Linked DNA regions of Homo sapiens: all the other regions are linked to region 1. The links are contacts of gene promoters, found by promoter capture Hi-C in blood cells and fetal thymus (Javierre and others, 2016). All regions are on one chromosome and are shown on one strand. The core of a region is centred on a gene start or on the middle of the fragment in contact, and the rest is flanking DNA. Distances in the headings are between cores, read along the strand shown.

Region 1 (3,782 bases), core at 585-3,084:
TATTATTTCAACATGTAGTCAGTATAAATATTTAGGGGATAGGTTATATTCTTTTTTTTAATACTAAGTCTTCAAAACCTAGTATATATTTTACACTTAGAGCATAGCTCAATTCAGACTGGCCACATTTCAAGTGCTTAATAGCCACATGTAGCCAAATGGCTACCAAATTGGACAGTGCAGTTCTGTGGCATTCTGTAAAATACTATGTGACTTGCCAGTACTGCCCGCTAAACATACTACGGTTAATGAAGTGTTTGGTTATCCATTCTCAAAAAAGAAAACAAAGTAGCTTTTAAAATCCAACACAGGTCTGGGCACGGTGGCCCATGCCTGTAATCCTGGCACTTTGGGAGGCTGAGATGGGTGGATCACTTGAGGTCAGGAGTTCAAGACCAGCCTGGCCAACTAAAAATACAAAAAGTACAAAAATAAAACACTCTACTAAAAATACAAAAATTAGCCAGGCATGGTGGTGGGTGCCTGTAATCCCAGCTACTTGGGAGGCTGAGGCAGGAGAATGGCTTGAACCAGGGAGGCGGAGGTTGTAGTGAGCCAAGATCGTGCCATTGGACTCCAGCCTGGGCAACAAGAGCAAAAAACTCCATCAACAATAAATAAATAAATCCAACACAGTAGTTTTACTTGATTTTGCAGTGTTCTATAATTTTTTTGTGTGTGGTGGAGAGAGAGGAGGCTTGAAATGGGGAAAAGGAGCCTAATTATTTTCAGTAGATTTTGTTTTTGTTTGTTATTTTTATTCTCGGAAAATTTAACTTTGCAGGGGATTGAGGTATTCCAGATAATGCCTTAAGGCAGAGGAAGGCAACATGTTGTAGTGCATTCAGAGTTTGCATGTGAATAATCAAATTAATCATGTTTTATTACATTTAACGTATATGTCACTACTGGGCTTAGTATCTGATGGTTTGAAAATTAAAAAGGTGGTAGGGTAGTGACTGACTTTGTGCTTGATATTTTGTCTATCACATATGACTTATTTTCCATAGATAATTCATTTTGGCAGTAAATTTTGTGTTCTAATTATTTTTATTCTTGCAGGCTGCTGAATCAGGAATAATAAAAGTTAAAACAATTGCTGCACGAAACACTGAAATTTTGGCAGGTAATTTTTTGTATTAAAAATTTAATAATAAACAAAAATTTGACTAATAGTAAAAGTAGAATCTTTATTGTAAAAGCCATCAGTTTTCTGTAACATCTCTTCCTCATGCCCTAACATATGCTATTCATAATGAAACAGAATGGGCAAAAGTCCATAACTTATGAACTGACTGTATTTCCCAGAGACGAATGCTACAAAAATTCTCTGAAATCAGAAAGCTTAACACTACTGACTCCTTAAAGGCAAGGAATTTTTTCTTACTCATCTTCGCATTCTCCTCCACTTCCTGCTAATCACCTGAGACACACCATAAAAAGCATTCAGTAATATTTGTTCCATTGTATTGAATGAAAGATTTGTTCTCAGTCCACCTTCTGTGATCTACTTTCTCTTTAATATAATACGAACAGTTCATAACATAGTCTTCTGTATTTAGTTGTACCGTATGAATTTTGAGTCTTGGGATTAAGGCAGTATGATCATGAAAAAAGAATGAGAGTGAAGTAGAGAAAAGAAAACAAAAATGTTTTCTTACCTTCTCTTGATTGAACCTGATTTTCAAGGAGGAATTTTCAGGAGTTTCTCTTTGGCATCCTTCTTTTCTACCCAGTCCACTCCTTTCTCTTCCTTGGTGCCTTTTGTTCTTGCCTCAATAATGAACATGGAAAAGAGGTAAACTGGCTTTTTTTTTTTTTTTTTTTTAAGAATCTGTTATATGCAAGGCACTTGTGTCATTCTATCTTACATAACAACCTTGTGGGGAAATATTATCTTATTTGATAGTAGAGCTAATTGAGATGTGAAGAGGTTAAGTTACTTGCCCAAGGTCACAGGAAAGGTGATAGAACCAGATTAAAATCCAGGAGTGTTCAGGAGCCCATGTTCTTCCTGCTACAGTGTGCTACCATGGTATCACCAGGTTTCCACGTTAGCCACTTACTCCCAAGTATTACATATGTAACCAGTGCTTGCTTCAGTGATCCTTTAATCTGCATTTCCAGTTCCAGTAGTGCTGTTGATCTCAGCTAATCTATGAGGAAAGTAGTCCTATTAAATTAATTTACAGAGTCCAAATAGTAAATAATCTCTTTAACTTTCATATACTTTACATTTTTTAAAAGGGATACCAGTAAATCTGTAACTGGTGGGATTTCAGAGTGTTATGAAATGAAATTAAGATTTTTGGGGTCAGATTAAGGATCGGGGGCAAGAGTGGATTTCACTTAGGCTATCCAGCTTTGCTGGAAATTTGCCCTTAGCATAAGCGCTCCTCAATTACATCTGTTTCCCACAGCTTTTTCCCTGATTTTGAACAGTCTTATCAAAACACCCAATAGTTTTATAACATTATGCACAGAAGTAAATAATGCTCTGTGTGCATATTGAGAAGTGGTATAGTGAAAGTGGTGGGTAAAGGCAGAGGTGCACATGGTAGGGTTAGGAAGGCTGGCAAGTGGGTTTTTTTTGTTTGTCTGTTTGTTTTTCCTGAGATGGACTTTTGCTCTTGTTATCCCAGCTGGAGTGCAATGGTGTGGTCTCGGCTTACTGCAACCTCTGCCTCCTGGGTTCAAGCGATTCTCCTGCCTCAGCCACCCGAGTAGCTGAGATTTCAGGTGCCCAACACCACATCTGGCTAATTTTTGTATTTTTAGTAGAGACAGGGTTTCATCATGTTGGCTAGGCTGGTCTCGAACTCCTGACCTCGGGGTTCTCCCGCCTCGGCCTCTCCAAGTGTTGGGATTACAGGCGTGAGCCACTGCGCCCGGCCAGCATGTGGGTTTTAATGGGAGATGTACATTAGGCAGATTAGCTACTGTGGGGAAATTGGTGTTTAAAGAAAAATGATGACCTGGATATTTTTATGTTGGAGACTTACCATAGGCCAATCGTATTAGAATATCACTGTAAATATTTAAAATATTTACTGTTGCTAATATCATTGTTGATACCGTGGTAAGTCCTTAATTATTCTCCAATAATACAAATTTTTATTGGTTTTATAGTTTGTGGAAGACTTTTTTTAAAAAAAGACTGATTTCCTCAGAGGATCACTGTTATTCCAGCATTCTATCCCAAGTAAAATGTCTAATAAATTACTCTTAAGATGAGTAAGAAAAATTTTGACTTAGTCGGTATGATTTAAATATATAGGCAGGCTGTTAATTTCATTTTAATTCAATTTGCATTATTCAAATCAAGTTAGAACAGATCTGGTGCAAATACAATTAATAGTCATGTTTTAATCTTCGTAGTATCCAGAGCCCATATACTTGAGGAGGTATATTTGCACTTAAACTTTATCCTAGTATTTTTTCTGAAGTATTTAAAGCAATTATACCTAAAAGTTGTAGATTTATAGACCACTATCATCTTGAAAATCAGAGGCTCTTCAAAACAGAGTTTAAATTAGTCAGTATATAGTTTCTAAACTATATAATTAAGAGTACAGTTAATACTGAGAAAAATTTTTAGTTAACTTTTTAAAATTTCATGAGAAGTATTTACTTCTTTATGGTACTTGAGACTATAGGAGACTATACTACTTTTGTGCTCTAATGTATGTCAAAAATACCAAACAATTGAGGAGTCTCAAATGAGATTGGATATTGAAATCTCATATGTCTCTGTATATTCAGAATATATAAAGATTTGTTGT
Region 2 (3,782 bases), core at 588-3,087, 360 kb after region 1:
TCAAGGCTCAAGATAACTTAAAGTTCCAACAGCTTTAAGTTTGGATTATTTAATTTCACACTTTGAAGGAGACAAATGCGCTGAATGTAAGCGATTTTAAATTAGATGCTTAATACCATCCTTAAATAAAAAGGACAAGGTGGACTACCAATATATTTCAATTAGTCAAGGGTAGATGTGTTCCAAAATGTTGTGTGTTTATTTCAGTTGTGTTCTCCCTATCTCAAATCACATAGCACGGAGTAGGTACTCGATAAATGTTAATTGAATGAATAAACAAATGAACTCATTTTGCCATAACACCCCATGGGAGAGAGACTAGAATAATGACGGTGTTCTAAGCCTGCCTATATATTTCTTAAAGCTTACAATATTTGGAGTTTCTCCTCATTTGATTTCTGCATTCCATAGAAAAAAATTAATTATAAGCACTTCTACTAGGAAATGAGCTTGGGAGTAGGATATGTTAAAGTGACCCCTAAACATTCTCCAGCAAAGAAGTAGCTGATAGATGTCAGAGCCTAGGGTACCTCTTCATCCAAATTCCACCTCTGGCTTCTGCCTTATAAATAAGTTCTCACCCTATTAACAGTTAGAGCCGACCAAGAAGGCCCTGGAGGGCCAGGATGGCTCTTTTACAACATCAAAAGACTACTGCAAAGGAGGGAAATTCCAAAGGTCTAAACAGGACCTGGAAGTAGCAGAAAGATAATTCTGACACTATCGGTTTGAAGCTACCCAGCCATGCAATGAGTTACCTCAAAAAGTAGAATTCCCTTCACTGGAAATGTCCAAAAGCTGGCTTATGACCTCCCAGGGATACTCTGAGGATCTCTGCATGGAATGGGAAGTTCCTAAGGCTTCTTTTCTAACTGTTGAGCCTATACCTCCATCCTCTTCTTGCCTCCATCTGTAGTTAATACAAAATCTATACTTCTTTCAGAGCTAAAATTTACATGGAACATAGTTTTAGAAAAGGGGAGTGGTACTTCTTGCTGAGGCAATTCTCTGACACCTGGTAGACCATATATGAGGTATGGAAAGTCTTGTAAAAATGGAAATTTCATTGACTTGACTTCCTATCCCCAACTAGACCTTTAATACGGGTGTACAAGGGAACCTCAAGTGCTGCTGTTCCTTGGGGCTGCAAATGTGGCTTGCTGTTCTTCCTCCCCAGACAACTTTCCCTGGGAGATCGTCTCTATTCCCAAGGCTTCATTTAAGATCCAAACACTAAGCACTGCCAAAATCATATCTACAGTACAGATCTCTGGGGGTGCCTGGCCTGTGTTTCCAAATACCTGTAGAATATCTGCCTTTGCATGTTGCACAACATGCAAGCTGCCCAACCCTATATTCATTTCTCCTTCCTTCTGCTGTCTCCTTCCTGTCTCAAATACAATCCTCCTTCTGGTGTTCTTTGTCTTAGTGGACAAAGAATTCCAAGGAGCATCCTTGTCCTCCCAGCTTACTACTCTCCCCACATCTAGCTTCTCAGCCTGCGGGGCTAAGTCATAACTATGACTTACATCCCCATTTCCATGCCTTGTCCAGGCCCTTGTCACATCCAGCAGGCACCAATATTTAAACCTCCTAACCTGTCGTCTCTTCTTAGTAAATCCTGCACAGCAGGCCCGGACTGACCTTTCTCAACCGTGAATGTGGCCATGTCTCTCCCATGCTCAAATATCTCCAAATGGGCTCTGAAGATTTCAGGATAAAATTTAAACTTTTGGGCCAGGTGCGGTGGCTCACGCCTGTAATCCCAGCACTTTGGGAGGCCAAGGCAGGCGGATCATCTGAGGTAAGGAGTTCGAGACCAGCCTAGCCAACATGGCAAAACCATCGGTACTAAAAAAAATACAAAAATTAGCTGGGCATGGTGGCAGGCACCTGTAGTCCCAGCTACTAAGGAGGCTGAGACAGGAGAATCTCTTGAACCCAGGAGGCGGAGGTTGCAGTGAGCCGAGATTGCGCCACTGCACTCCAGCCTGGGCAACAGAGCGAGATTCCGCCTCAAAAAAAAAAAAATTTTTTTTTTTTTTAACTTTTTAGCTTACCATATCAGTGTCTTCCTGACGGGCCCTCTGAATATCCTCAGCTTCCCCCATCTGGTCTCCTCGCACCCCCTCATCCTTAGCCATAATAAACAGTTTGTGGTTTACAAAAAGCACCCAGTTGCTACATACCACGATTCCTTCTCACATGCCTTTTCCACCCCCTGCAATGACCTAACCTCCTCTTGTCTGACAAACATCCCTTGTCCTTCAGTATTCAGTTTGTTAAGGCTATTTTGCATGCACTTTATTGTTCTTAAAGACTGCAGTGTAACCAGTAAGTAGCACAGTGCTCATAGTATGGAAATCACCAGAAACTTGGATTGGTATCCTAGCTCTGCCACTGGCTAGTTGTGTGTCTTGGGGAGGTTAATGGGCTACTGTGTGGACTAAGAGAATGCATAAATGTAAAGTGCATATACCTGTCAGAGATGTTTTTATCTGCCCAGACTCCCTTTCTCCTAGACATCATCTTTCCTTCCCACCCTCCTCCGTCCCATTCATATGGTTTTTCCATGGCCAGAGGTGACTGGTTTAGGGATGGCCACCTGATCTCTGAGCTGAGCCAATTAGGGCCCTTCTGTGAAAAATGAAAGAAAGAAAAAGGCAGCAGAAGGCAAGAAGGGGAAGAGAGGGAGAGACAAAGAGGAGAAGAGTACATATTTGTGAGAAGAGTACATGTTGGAAATAGAATCTCAACAGAGTCCCTAGTTCTAGGTGTTCCCAAGACCCATTTGTCTTTGGAATATCTGGGTAACCCCAATATTCTCTAATAAATTTCCCTTGAATGGCTGTCAATTGCAAGCTAGAGTATAGCAAGACCCAACTCTCAATACACCCTCACTATACTATCATTATTAAACTGCAAGGGCCGTGAAGGTAGGGGTAGAAACTTATTTAATTCTGTATTCTCAGAGATTAGCATAGTGCCTGATATACTGCAGGCAGTCAAGTACCTACTAAATGAAAGGTTTGTTGACTTCAGGGGAGAAATTATAATTCAGGGTTAAAATTTATATCACAAGCTCAAGGATCTCTACCTAACATCCTGTGCTAAGAGGTAAAAGACAACAAGAAGTAGCAAATTTTTGCCAGTTATGACCAGAGCAAGCCAGTGAGGTAAACATCTGACAGCCACTGATCAGGCATATTTAATCTTCTGAATATCTTTGATTTATTATCAATTGAGTAAATCAAAGTTTATTTTAAGGATTCAAAAAAAAAGCTGTTAAACTTACATAGATAACTATTACTGAAGCTTACCAAGAGTAGACAGTAAGCTGTTCAGAAATCTAGCAACTGAAAAAAAAACAAATCATCACTCCCATGGCCTGGGATGCGGAAGGACTCAGAAATTGTTGGAAATTCCACAGACTCAAAATGAGGTAACTGTTTACCTTCCTTATTGCATTTTAATCTAGAGATTAAAATAGATCTCATTGTTCCAGAATCCTGCCTATGGTAAGAAATGAGTTCTCAATGGCTGAGAATAAATTTTAATAGCGGAACCAGAAGCATAAGAGAGGAAATCATGAGGAAAAATTTTTCTTCATAAAAAGGACCATGAGGTTAATTTTCATTTCATTACATTTCTAAATTGCATATATTTTTGTATGCTGGTTGCAAAATATCCTTTCTGTATTGACATGAAGTATAAATTAATCAGTAAATACATAAAATTCTTACATCCTACATTTTCAAAATAGCTCCTAACTCATTAATTTA
Region 3 (3,782 bases), core at 654-3,153, 300 kb after region 1:
ACGTGAGGCAACTGCAGCTTCTAAGGGAATGTGCATAAAAGGAGAAGCTTCTGGGAGAGAACAGTGCAAAGTCACTAAGTAAAAGTGGAGTCAACTGGGGAGTCATCCCAGGCCCCCTTCCAAACACCCAGGGCACTCGAATCCCTTTCCTTCCTCCTCATCACTCTCACATATTATGCTCCTGCTAAGTTTTCACTGAGAAACAGATTCTGAAGTCAAAAAACGTTTGAATACTACTGGTTTAGATTTATCACAGACGTGTACATGAAATGCTATATGCATAAGTAAGAGACTGCCTTTACCTTGTAATATCAACCTGATTGTCCTTAAATGCATTTTCATTCTGATGTAGAAGGCCTGTCTTTAATTATTTCTAATCATTTAATTTTTGAGACAAAATAAAAACATCAGAAGGCATTAGAAATTAGCAAGAATCAGACAGCTCATCTGCTTACCTGCTATCCCCAGCATTTGCAACATACAGCTTCCCCAAAAGGCAAATCACAATGAGGGCCGTGCAGCCACCAGATATATTATATGAACTCCTCTCTCGTTCTATCTGTAGGTCCTGGAGAATAAAACAGAGTTAGTGTTGGATTGTGCAGGATGTGTAGCAAAAGCTTTCTCACTTTCATTCTCTTGACAGTCCCCAGACTCTGAATGTGCTTCAAGAAGGGACTAGAAAAATCTTTAGTGCTTGCTTTCCTACCACCTGATGAGCATTTCTGGAGAGGACACTGGCATAAAACTGCCACATATTAGACCATCTGTGAACCAGAGACAGGAAACAATAGACAGCAAACAGAAACAATCAGACAAAAATGCAAATAAAATGTAAGTTGTATTCAGTAAATATCACAGCTTATGGAAAATTTAGTCTTTGTGGATTGCATGAGCTACCATGTGAAACATACACTAGAGAGGCTGAGGATGACAAGTACTTGGACCTGATCAATGTTTTGTTTGTTTTTTGAAGACAGGATCTGGCTCTGTCACCCAGGCTAGAGTGCAGTGGCCCAATCTTGGCTCACTGCAACCTGTGCTTCCCAGGCTCAAGCAATCCTCCCACCTCAGCCTTCCGAGTACCTGGGACCACAGGTGCGCACCACCATGCCCGGCTAATTTTTGTATTTTTTGTAGAGATGGGGTCTTGCCACATTGTCCAGGCTGGTCTCGAACTCCTGTGCTGAAGCAATCTGCCTGCCTCGGCCTCCCAAAGTGCTGGGATTACAGGCATGAGCCACTGCGCCCAGCCTTGTCTTTTTAGAGAAGGTTTGCTCTGTCACCCAGGCTGGAGTGCAGTGGTATGATCATAGCTCACTGCAGCCTTGACCTCCTGGGCTCAAGCCTCCTGCCTTAGCCTCCTGAGTAGCTGGGACTACAGGTCTGTGCAGCCACCACACCCAGCTAACTCCTCCATTTTTTGTGGGGACAGGGTCTCACTATGTTGCCCAGGCTGGTCTCAAACTCTTGGCCTCAAACAATCCTGTCTCAGCCTCCCAAAGCACTGGGCCACCATACCCAGCCCAGATATGATCAATGTTTTAAACTCCAAAGTCTTGGATAAATAGTCTCTTTTACAGATAAATTACAGAAAGATGTCTTCTATTCAACACAGGCAGGAGTCAAGCCATGACTTATAGGGCAAAGACTTACAATGACTTATAAATGACTTAAAATGACTTAAATAAATTATAAATGACTTATAATGACTTAAATGACTTCAAATGACTTATAGGGCTTCTGAACTCTGACCTGACTTTTCCTCTTCCCACAGCCACCAATTTACAATGGTAAAACGTTTATAATAATTAGAAACATTCATTGAGAACTTTCTCTACGTCACGTAGTGTGCTGAGCACTTTATACTCAAACTCTCATATCGTCCTCAAGACCATCACTATGAACCTCATTGTTTAGTTGCAGAGAAGTGGGGTAGCCTGCCCATATTTACCTGGCTAGAGTCTGGATTCCAACCTGCTTCTCTTCCAAAGTTTGTGTTGTTACCTGCCACCTAATGAGGCCTCCCCAAGGAATTGATATTAAAAATAGACCAACACTGGCATCATCAAGACAGATACCTGTGAAATTCTGTGTTAGCGATAGAAGCAAAGGTTCTGTTACCTCAGAAAAATCTGTGTTAGTAAGATACATTGAATGCCTGGCTAAAATAATGCCAAATCTTCCAGTGGTAATCTACTACTTTTGGTGCAGAGGGAAGGAAAATGAGGGCTGGCTAAAAATTACAGGAAGAGGAAGAAACGGTGACGTTGATGCTGTTGTTGGCAGATCTAGGGTCAGGCCACTATTGTAATCCTGAGAATCCCACAGAGTTAGAGCTCAGCTGCTTCAACCAGACTCCTCATGGAAAAGGGGGAGAGAAGTCAAGACCCCAGCATTTACCAGCAACTGCTTTGCTCTAGGGGCCAGAGATGGTAACATAAAAAGGGTAAATCACCAATGGGAAACTGGAAACAGAAGAGCTTGAGCTTAGGGATATCATATTGGTTAAAGAGCAAATGGAAGCCAGGCACGGTGGCTAACGCCTGTAATTCCAATACTTTGGGAGGCAGAGACAGGAGGTCACTTGAGGCTAGGAGTTCAAGACCAGCCTGGGCAACATAGTGATACCCCCATCTCTATAAAAAATAATTAGCTGGGTGTGGTGGCACATGCCTGTAGTCTTAGCTACTTGGGAGGCTGAGGACAGAGGATCTCTTGAGCCCAGGAGTTCGAGGCTGCAGTAAGCCATGATCATGCCACTGTGCTTTAGCCGGGGTGACAGAGCGAGACCCTGTCTCAAAAACAAAAACAAAATAACAACAAAAACCAGTAAATAGAGAAAAAACACAAAGCCAGGACTTGGGAGAGACCAACACACTGGGAGAGAGCTGGGTAAGAGATTGCGGGAGGGGAACTGGAGAGCCACGGGGAGGAGGTAGGAATATGTGTTGGGGGATGTAGTGGTTTATAAACAAGTGAGGAAACACTTCAATATGGGAGTGAACAGCAGCAGCAAAAGCTGCAGAAGCATCAAGCATGGGGCAAACTTCAAAGGACTATGTGGGATTTTTAACATTTACTTCAACTGTGTATAAATTAGCTTTCTTAAAGGACTGTCGTAAGGCTAAATTAGCTGGCATGTGTGAGGGGCTTAGTAGGATATCTGGACCCTTCCCGCAGCCCAGAAGCTTCAACATTGAGAGCGGTGGCCTTTCTTGCTCATCTTAGACCCTCAACACCTAGGTTAGGCCAGGTAAATGGTAGTTTAATAAATATCTGTTCAATGGACAAATGAAGAAATAAATTTTAAATTTTTTTTATCTGCCTCTCCCCTTACCTCTGCCTTAATATGAAAAATGGATTCCACAATTCACAAATGAAAAGCTTACAATGCCAACGCTCGCTGAGATAATAATTAAGCAGAAACCCATGCTTCAATTAAAATGCTTGACTGCCAAGAATGGTTATCAGAACCTACACAAGACTGGTAGAAGGCTGGAGGATGAGGAGGAGGGGCACGGGTGTCAGGTGGGAAGAATTATCTCAAGCAAATAGAAGAGAGGAGAAGGAAAACATCAAGATGCCTGTTTAACCTCCAAGAAAACCCATAAAAACAGAACCCCAAACCCTACTAAGGGGTTTGTGGATGGAATTGCTACTTTTTTTGCATTTAAAGAACGCATATAAAGTTGATACTATGATAGATACATATTTTACTGAATTATATAAGTTGATAAAGAGTCTGCATCCAATACATCAAAAGGAACTGCTCAGCTACA
Region 4 (3,782 bases), core at 783-3,282, 300 kb before region 1:
CTCACAGCCATTTTACAATATCAAAAGAAATCACTTGCATACAAATGTTTTGTAAACAATATAGCACTATTTAAGTATAGTTATTATTTATGATTCTGGAATGTATTTTGTTGTTTCTTATGGAAATGAAAGAGAAAAATTATTTAGAATTTTTAAATTATACAATTAATGAAACGCTTATTAAATGCCTTATTAAAGGTTAGATTTGGGTGGTACAAGGTGAAGAATTATGACACATTCCTCAACCTCAAGAATTTCACATTCTAGGGAGGAAGTCGACAGAAAGGACAATGACCAAGATGTGTTCAAGTGACAGAATAGAAGCATTATATGCTTCTATAGAACTTGGAGAAATCTTTATAGAACTTGGAAGAATCTAAGTAACCATTAAATCCAACCCTCTCATTTGCCATAGAGAAAACTGGTGATGAAAATGATCAGTAATTTTTTTCCAAGGGCTGATAGCTATCTGTGGCAGTGTCAGAACTGGAACTCATTATTTTTGACTTTTAGTTTAATAAACAACCTTGACAGAAATTTCTTGTTCCTGAATAGAGGTTTTACAAGACTGAGGCAGGACACTCGGTTTGGCTCCACGCATTTTTCTCTCCTCTATGGTCTTACTTCAGTGCATTGCCATTTTACCTCTTTGTTCCCCAAGAATTTCAATGGATTTATTCTTTTCTAACTTCTTACTTTTCTCAAAGGTCAAGGATTTCCTCTTTTTTTAGAGAGAAATCTAGAACAAACTTCCCTTCTGATCTTCTTTTCTCTCTTACTTTTACTCCATCTGGCTCCCTACCTGATAATTCTTCCTCGTTATATCCCACAAAATGCTAACCCTGCCACCTTCTCAATCCCTGACTGCCAGTTATTCAGTCTGCTTTTTTCTCTCAGTTCACTCCGGTCTGCCATACCATCTGCCCAGTGAACTTGATGCAGATTTCATAAAATGCAAAGTAAAATATTAGCTACAAACCCTGAAGTTCACCTTAAAGACTAGGTAATCAGCTGCTAGGAAAAGACAGTAAGCAAGGAAAATCATAGCTCACCCAGTTTTCCTAGTAGTGTAACATGGACTCTGCTCCAAGGTAAAATTCACCAATGTGCAGTAAGCTTGATTTCAATTCCATGTATTGATTTTAAATTTTTTTCAGTACTATACAGTACCTGAATTTTTTACGAATTTTCATATTTGGGATTGCATTGGGGAAGAAGAATAGATACATCTTTTTCAATAAGTACCACCGTAGCCATAGCTCAAAAATTAGATTGAGCTTAGAGCTTAGTTACACAAGTCTGAGTGTTTTGGGACAATACAAGGAAAAATCAGGTTCATTCCATTTAAAGCCTTTCTTGAGAATCATCAGAGAATCCCAAAAATATTATACTTCAAAGACTAAAGACATCATATTCAAGGGTTTTGAGAAAGTTTCTAAGTGTGTAGCAATGCTAATATATACAGTTATAATCTTTTAAAATACATGCAAAGAAAAAATATTCAACTTTTTTATAATCTAATAAACTGAACTTTTTCAGGTTTTATTAAACATATGTGTTTTTTAAATAATCAAGTACAGTCAAAGAGTTTTAATTTTGTGGAATCTTCTATGGTGGCAAGAATTTAGAAGCCTTACTTAACTCAGAAGGGTGAAAATGAAATCAATAAATATCTGAGCATATTAGCTATACTAAATAGCATTTAGAATTAGAATAGCCAAAAAAATTTAGTATCATTGAAGCCAAGAACAATGGTATCATGGTCAATAATGTTTCTGAAGTTAACAAAAAAAAAGCAAATCCCAGTTCATGATAAATTACAAAAATGGTAATTATGTAGATAAGAATAAATGGCTTTAAATTCCCTAATGAATGAGTCAAGTTACTGACAAGAGCAATCAAAATATATTCCATATGTGATTAACAACACTTAAATTTGACATTGACAAATATTATTTAATTTATACAACAGTAGAATCACAAGTGTATGTAGTCTCTAAGTCTCCAGGTTACAATAAATTATGGAAAGAATGAGAATTTCAGTCAGCATGCTTACTTTATTTTTGTCCTTGACCTTTTGCCTAGAATGTATTTGTTAATTCGGGTGTAGGTCAGAAAAACTGGTGCCCCCCGCCCCCTGAGTCTCTCTCTCACATACACACACGCGTGTGCACACACACATAATTAGAAATGACACTTCTTCACAGAATTCTCCCTTCGGCATTGAAGAAACATATAAAGCTACACTCTATCAATTTGTAACTATGTAACTACTGATCCCATCTTCCCATTAAGTTTATTAAGTACCTATTAGATGCCAGACACTATGCTAAACATTGAGAATCAATAGAAATGAGATATACATGGGTCTGCCTCACAGAGCTTACAGTCTAACAGATTCAGTGGAATGAATTGATATCATTCCTCTGCTATAAGCAAAGCTATTCTATATAGTAGAAACTTGTAAACACTTAGAAGAAAAAAACTGAGTAAGATTTAATAGCATGACTATTACGAACTATATTAATCATACAACTTGAAAGAAAACAAATTGCTTCACTCCCTCAGACTGACATGTCTAAATCTAATCTCAGTTTATAATTAATACACCAGCATAAGGAAACATAAGAACTTCCAGAGCATTGATAAAACTGATGACGAAATATTTCATCCAGTGAACTGAGCTTGTGACATGAGGTCCTAGACAGCAGTAGAATAGAGTCACGTACCTTAGCTATGACACCTTCTGACATTAGCCAAACTGGCTTAGGGTGAGAAAATCCTTCTAATATATGAAGATAAGAAGTTCAAACTTCCTAAATCATAAAGTATTATGTCTTCAATCCTATAGGAATCACTTATGGAAAGTTATTTAAGATTAACAGGGCAAAATTTACAAAAAGGAAGAGATATTCATTTTAAAATTGTAAGCCCAATAAATACACAAGGAAAGCTTCATCTTTTCTCAAGTCCATCCCCCCCCCGCTACACATAGTAGCTACTCAAGTAGAACAAAAACCTAGACATTATGGCCAAAATTTTGACATCTAAGCCCTAAAAGGAATAAGTCACTATTGAAATTCCAAAAATAATTTGGAGAACTAAAATTGACTTTGTATACTAGAATATATTGATATATAATATAATGTCTTAGTTATGAAATAAACATCTCTTCAAACTGTAGGATGTAAACCAAACTTGTATTAATATGTGAAAAACAATTTCTAATTTACGTATTGGAGGAAAAATATGTTCTCTAAATGGAAGGTTAAAAAACTAAGCAAAACACTTACAAATTCTGTGCTCCTATGAAAGAGCCTATGAGAAAAATGTTTGGAGTCAGTGACCAGGTTTGAGCTGCTTGCCACAGGGAGAAACCTGTCAAAGGGGTAAGAGTTGAAGGCTTCCCACCTTTTCGAATGTGCAGAATAAAATTTAGTGATAAAAATGCTTTCTAAAGCCATGCAACTCAAACCATAGTCCACGGGCCAACAGTATTCAGCTGGGAGCTTGTTAAAAAGGCAGAATCTCAGGCCCTCTTCCAGAACCTTCATTTTAGCAAAATTTCCCTGGTAATTTGTGTACACATAGAAGTTTAAAAGGCACTGTTATGAGGAATAAGGCATTCTGGGACTACAGAGCCTGTTCCAAATATTTTGCATAAATTTAAACTTCTGCATCTACCATTTGTGTCACCCTCCATTTGAGGACAGACCTTGTGAGCTAGAATCAATCCACTGCATTACATACCTCACCTCAAATATATTCTATAATATTTTTCT
Region 5 (3,782 bases), core at 862-3,361, 270 kb after region 1:
AGAGATGAGAGGGAAAGAGAAAGCAGGATATCTAACCAGGAACCAGTTGGACCTAGGAAAGCTGACTTGAGAGGCACCTGTGATGTCAGCAAAGATTTAACCAAAGCCAAAGACAGCATCTCCAAGGGCTCAAAGGGGAAAACTCTCCTTCCAGAGTTCACAAGGGACACTCAATGCTATGACTGGTCCAGCTGGAAAATGAGGTTGGGGAAAGGGTGGATGACCAGAAAATGGCACCCCCAATGATGAGACTCTGCAGACAGAAACCCATGGCCAAAGAGGCACTGAGAGGCACTGTTTGGTCCTCGTGAGAAGCCTCAGTGGGTTGGCTTTTATCCCCATACTCCCTCATGCTCTCGTAGGGCTGGGTTATGAATCTGAATTATCTGAGTGTAGACAGTAGGGAACAGGAAAGGAGGAAGAACATCATGGATAAAATCAGGAGTGTGATTTTTGATAGATAAACTGTTTCCTGTTTTTGCTGGGATTAGTTATGCCAAAAGTGGAAACTCAGCTTCCTGAGACACCTCCCATTTCAACACAAGAAATAGGAGAAATATTTATACCATGGCCTAGTAAGGCTGAAAAAATCTTCAGGTGTGTAAAAAATATTTTAAGTTCTAGAGAAACTATTATAGTTGCTTAGGGTTTAACTTCTTTCTCAAACTGTAAAATGAAAATAGACCAGTTCACCCTTAGATCACAGGAATGAATAAAATCAATGAAGAGATAAATTCACTAGAAGAAAACACACTCTAGTAAATTCACCAGAAATGTACCATCATAGATCTACTATTTTCAAGTGTCTTTCTTGGGGCAAGTTTCAAGTTGTAAGGTTGTCTTTACAATAGAATTATTGAAAGGCACTTCCTACCATAACACCACTCCAGAAAACACTCGGAAGCAGCTCTATCATTTAAGACCCATGTTTCTGTGTCCCAATTTCTATGGACTTATCCAAATTTACAATTTCAAATGTTTAGCATCAGTCAGTAAGTCACACACTCCACAGAACAAGAGGCTCTTAGAACACAATTATTATCTTATTCCCATTGGCTGGTCTCATTCACAACCACCTCTCAAAGAAGAAAAGCAGATGGAGGCTTCCCACATGCAACCCTTTATGGCTCCAGCCTGGTGCAATTTAGGAGTGAGGTTTAGAAGGAATTAGAAAGCGCAGTAATAGAGACAGTCATTGTAATTTGAAACATGAATTTGCTGTTCAAAAGGCTAAACTGGAGTGCTTAAAGCTAAGTGCTTAAAACTACCCCAGAACCCTAAAGTAATGTACCATAATTACAATTACTTTCCTTCAATAATAGATTTAAAAAGTTAATACTTTCTTGTGTTTGGCTGGAATCACTCAGTCATCCATTGTAGTTGTGAGATCTCTTTCTTGGAAATCAACATCTTCATTTGGTTTCCACATGAATAATTCTTGGAAGCTACAAAGTCTTTGAAGGGTATTTATTTTTGCCTTGAGGTCTGGTGGCCTCAAAGTTCACATGAACCTCACAGATGCAAACTATCTCAGCATGATTCATCTATGCCTATAGCGTTCTCACCAAAGGGAGGTCCCTGCCTGTGTGGGGTTTCCATATTTATACTGCTTTGTGTGTTTATTTGTAGTTAAAATTGTTTTCACAAGTCAAATAAATTTAAAGATGACCTACAATGCACATGCATGAGAAATTAAGCCAAAACTCAGATTCTTGACTGAATCACTGTTTGTTTTATCTTGGTGGTGGGACATGTGCTTTGCCTAAACTTCAAACTTCTTATCCTTCTGCCTCCATAATTGCAATCATCTCACTCTCCACACTGGCTACATTTTATTTAAACCTTCCAACTGTGGAGGAAAAAAAAGGAGCATCTAACCCAAGACAGGTGTCACCTAGACAGGAACTATCTGAGAGCTAAGAGAATTTCTTTTCTCCATGAAATGCTGTGGTGGTTAGTGTCAGGCCTCTGAGCCCAAGCTAAGCCATCATATTCCCTGTGACCTGCACTTTTACATCCAGATGGCCTGAAGCAACTGAAGATCCACAAAAGAAGTGAAAATAGCCTTAACTGATGACATTCCACCATTGTGATTTGTTTCTGCCCCACCCTAACCGATCAATGTACTTTGTAATCTCCCCCACCCTTAAGAAGGTTCTTTGTAATTCTCCCTACCCTTGAGAATATACTTTGTGAGATCCACCCACTGCCCGCAAAACATTGCTCCTAACTCCACTGCCTATCCCAAAACCTTTAAGAACTAACGATAATCCACCACCCTTTGCTGACTCTCTTTTTGGACTCAGCCCGCCTGCACCCAGGTGAAATAAACAGCCATGTTGCTCACACAAAGCCTGTTTGGTGGTCTCTTCACACGAACACGTGAGACATTTGGTGCCGAAGACTCGGGTAAGTGGGACTCCTTCGGGAGACCAGTCCCCTGTCCTCACCTCACTCTCACTCCATGAAGAGATCCACCTATGACATCAGGTCCTCAGACCAACCAGCCCAATGAACATCTCACTGATTTTAAATCGGGTAAGCGGTCTATTTTTACTCTCTTCTCCAACCTCTCTCACTATCCCTCAACCTCTTTCTCCTTTCAATCTTGGCACCACCCTTCAATCTCTCCCTTCTCTTAAGTTCAATTCCTTTCATTATCTGGTAGAGACAAAGGAGACACATTTTATCCGTGGACCCAAAATTCTGGCACTGGTCACGGACTCGGGAAGACAGCCTTCCCTTGGTGATTAATCATTGCGGGGACGCCTGCCTGATTATTCACCCACGTTTCAGAGGTGTCTGACCACTCGGGGATGCCTGCCTTGGTCTTTCACCCTTAGCAGCAAGCACCGCTTTTCTGGGGGGCAAGCACCCCTGACTCCTTCTCTCCGTGTCTCTACCCCTTCTCCACTTTCCTGGGGGGCAAGCACCTCCCACTCCTTTTCCACTTTCCTGGGGGGTAAGCACCTCCCACCCCATTTCCACTTTCCTGGGGGGCAAGCACCTCCCACCCTGTTTCCACTTTCCTGGGGGGCAAGCATCTCCCACCCTGTTTCCACTTTCCTGGGGGGCAAGCACCTCTCACCCCTTCTTCACTTTCCTGGGGGGCAAGCACCCCCCATCCCTTCTCTCCATGTCTCTACCCTTCTCTTTAAACTTGCCTCCTTCACTATGGGCAACCTTCCACCCTCCATTCTTCCTTCTTCTCCCTTAGCCTGTGTTCTCAAGAACTTAAAACCTCTTCAACTCTAGCCTGACCTAAAATCTAAGCATCTTATTTTCTTCTGCAATACTGTTTGGCCCCAGTACAAACTCGACAATGGTTCTAAATAGCCAGAAAATGGCACTTTTGATTTCTCTGTTTTACAAGATCTAGATAATTTTTGTCGAAAAATGGGCAAATGGTCTGAGGTGCCTGACGTCCAGGCATTCTTTTACACATTGGTTCCTCCCTAGTCTCTGCTCCCAGTGAGACTCGTCCCAAATCTTTCTTCTTTCCCTCCCACCTGTCCCTTCAGTCCCAACCCCAAGTGTCACTGAGTCTTGTGAATCTTCCCTTTCTACTAACCCATCTGACCTCTCACCTCCTCCCCAGGCTGCTCCTCCTCCGGTCGCTCCCTGCCAGGTTGAATCAGGCTCCAACTCTTCTTCAGCCTCTGCTCCCCCACCCTATAACCCTTCTATTACCTCCCCTCACACCCAGTCTGGTTTACAGTTTCATTCTGCAACTAGCTCTCCCCCACCTGCTCAACAATTTCCGCTTAGAGAGGTGGCTGGAG

Evidence for each region. Contacts are between HindIII fragments. The CHiCAGO score rates a contact against its expected background, and 5 or more counts as called.
Region 2: a fragment that was not itself captured here is called in contact with the fragment with the promoter of MON2-AS1 in region 1 in 5 of 17 cell types (total B cells, fetal thymus, naive B cells and 2 more); the score reaches 9.6 in total B cells.
Region 3: a contact is called between a fragment that was not itself captured here and the fragment with the promoter of MON2-AS1 in region 1, in 11 of 17 cell types (naive B cells, total CD8 T cells, total B cells and 8 more). The highest score is 18.4, in naive B cells.
Region 4: a fragment that was not itself captured here is called in contact with the fragment with the promoter of MON2-AS1 in region 1 in 1 of 17 cell types (activated CD4 T cells); the score reaches 5.1 in activated CD4 T cells.
Region 5: a fragment that was not itself captured here is called in contact with the fragment with the promoter of MON2-AS1 in region 1 in 5 of 17 cell types (activated CD4 T cells, naive CD8 T cells, non-activated CD4 T cells and 2 more); the score reaches 5.3 in activated CD4 T cells.

The regions. Positions count from the first base shown.
Region 1 is chr12:62,483,108-62,486,889 of GRCh38, forward strand. MON2-AS1 (MON2 antisense RNA 1) reads right to left here and starts at 1,835. Exons shown (of 2, transcript NR_186172.1): 1 at 1,662-1,835. MON2 (MON2 regulator of endosome-to-Golgi trafficking) reads left to right here. Exons shown (of 35, transcript NM_015026.3): 2 at 1,063-1,126. The HindIII fragment of the contact is 7,471 bases long and covers 1,343-3,782 here.
Region 2 is chr12:62,844,482-62,848,263 of GRCh38, forward strand. All of the region lies in intron 1 of PPM1H (protein phosphatase, Mg2+/Mn2+ dependent 1H), which reads right to left. The region is part of intron 1 of LOC105369795 (a long non-coding RNA gene); the gene reads left to right. Among named protein-coding and RNA genes, the nearest start is that of PPM1H, 89 kb to the right of the region's middle. The HindIII fragment of the contact is 2,951 bases long and covers 363-3,313 here.
Region 3 is chr12:62,787,771-62,791,552 of GRCh38, forward strand. It overlaps PPM1H (protein phosphatase, Mg2+/Mn2+ dependent 1H), which reads right to left. Exons shown (of 10, transcript NM_020700.2): 4 at 456-568. Among named protein-coding and RNA genes, the nearest start is that of PPM1H, 150 kb to the right of the region's middle. The HindIII fragment of the contact is 2,571 bases long and covers 619-3,189 here.
Region 4 is chr12:62,179,016-62,182,797 of GRCh38, forward strand. The region is part of intron 1 of TAFA2 (TAFA chemokine like family member 2); the gene reads right to left. Among named protein-coding and RNA genes, the nearest start is that of TAFA2, 12 kb to the right of the region's middle. The HindIII fragment of the contact is 1,837 bases long and covers 1,115-2,951 here.
Region 5 is chr12:62,756,813-62,760,594 of GRCh38, forward strand. All of the region lies in intron 4 of PPM1H (protein phosphatase, Mg2+/Mn2+ dependent 1H), which reads right to left. Among named protein-coding and RNA genes, the nearest start is that of MIRLET7I, 160 kb to the left of the region's middle. The HindIII fragment of the contact is 7,008 bases long and covers 1-3,782 here.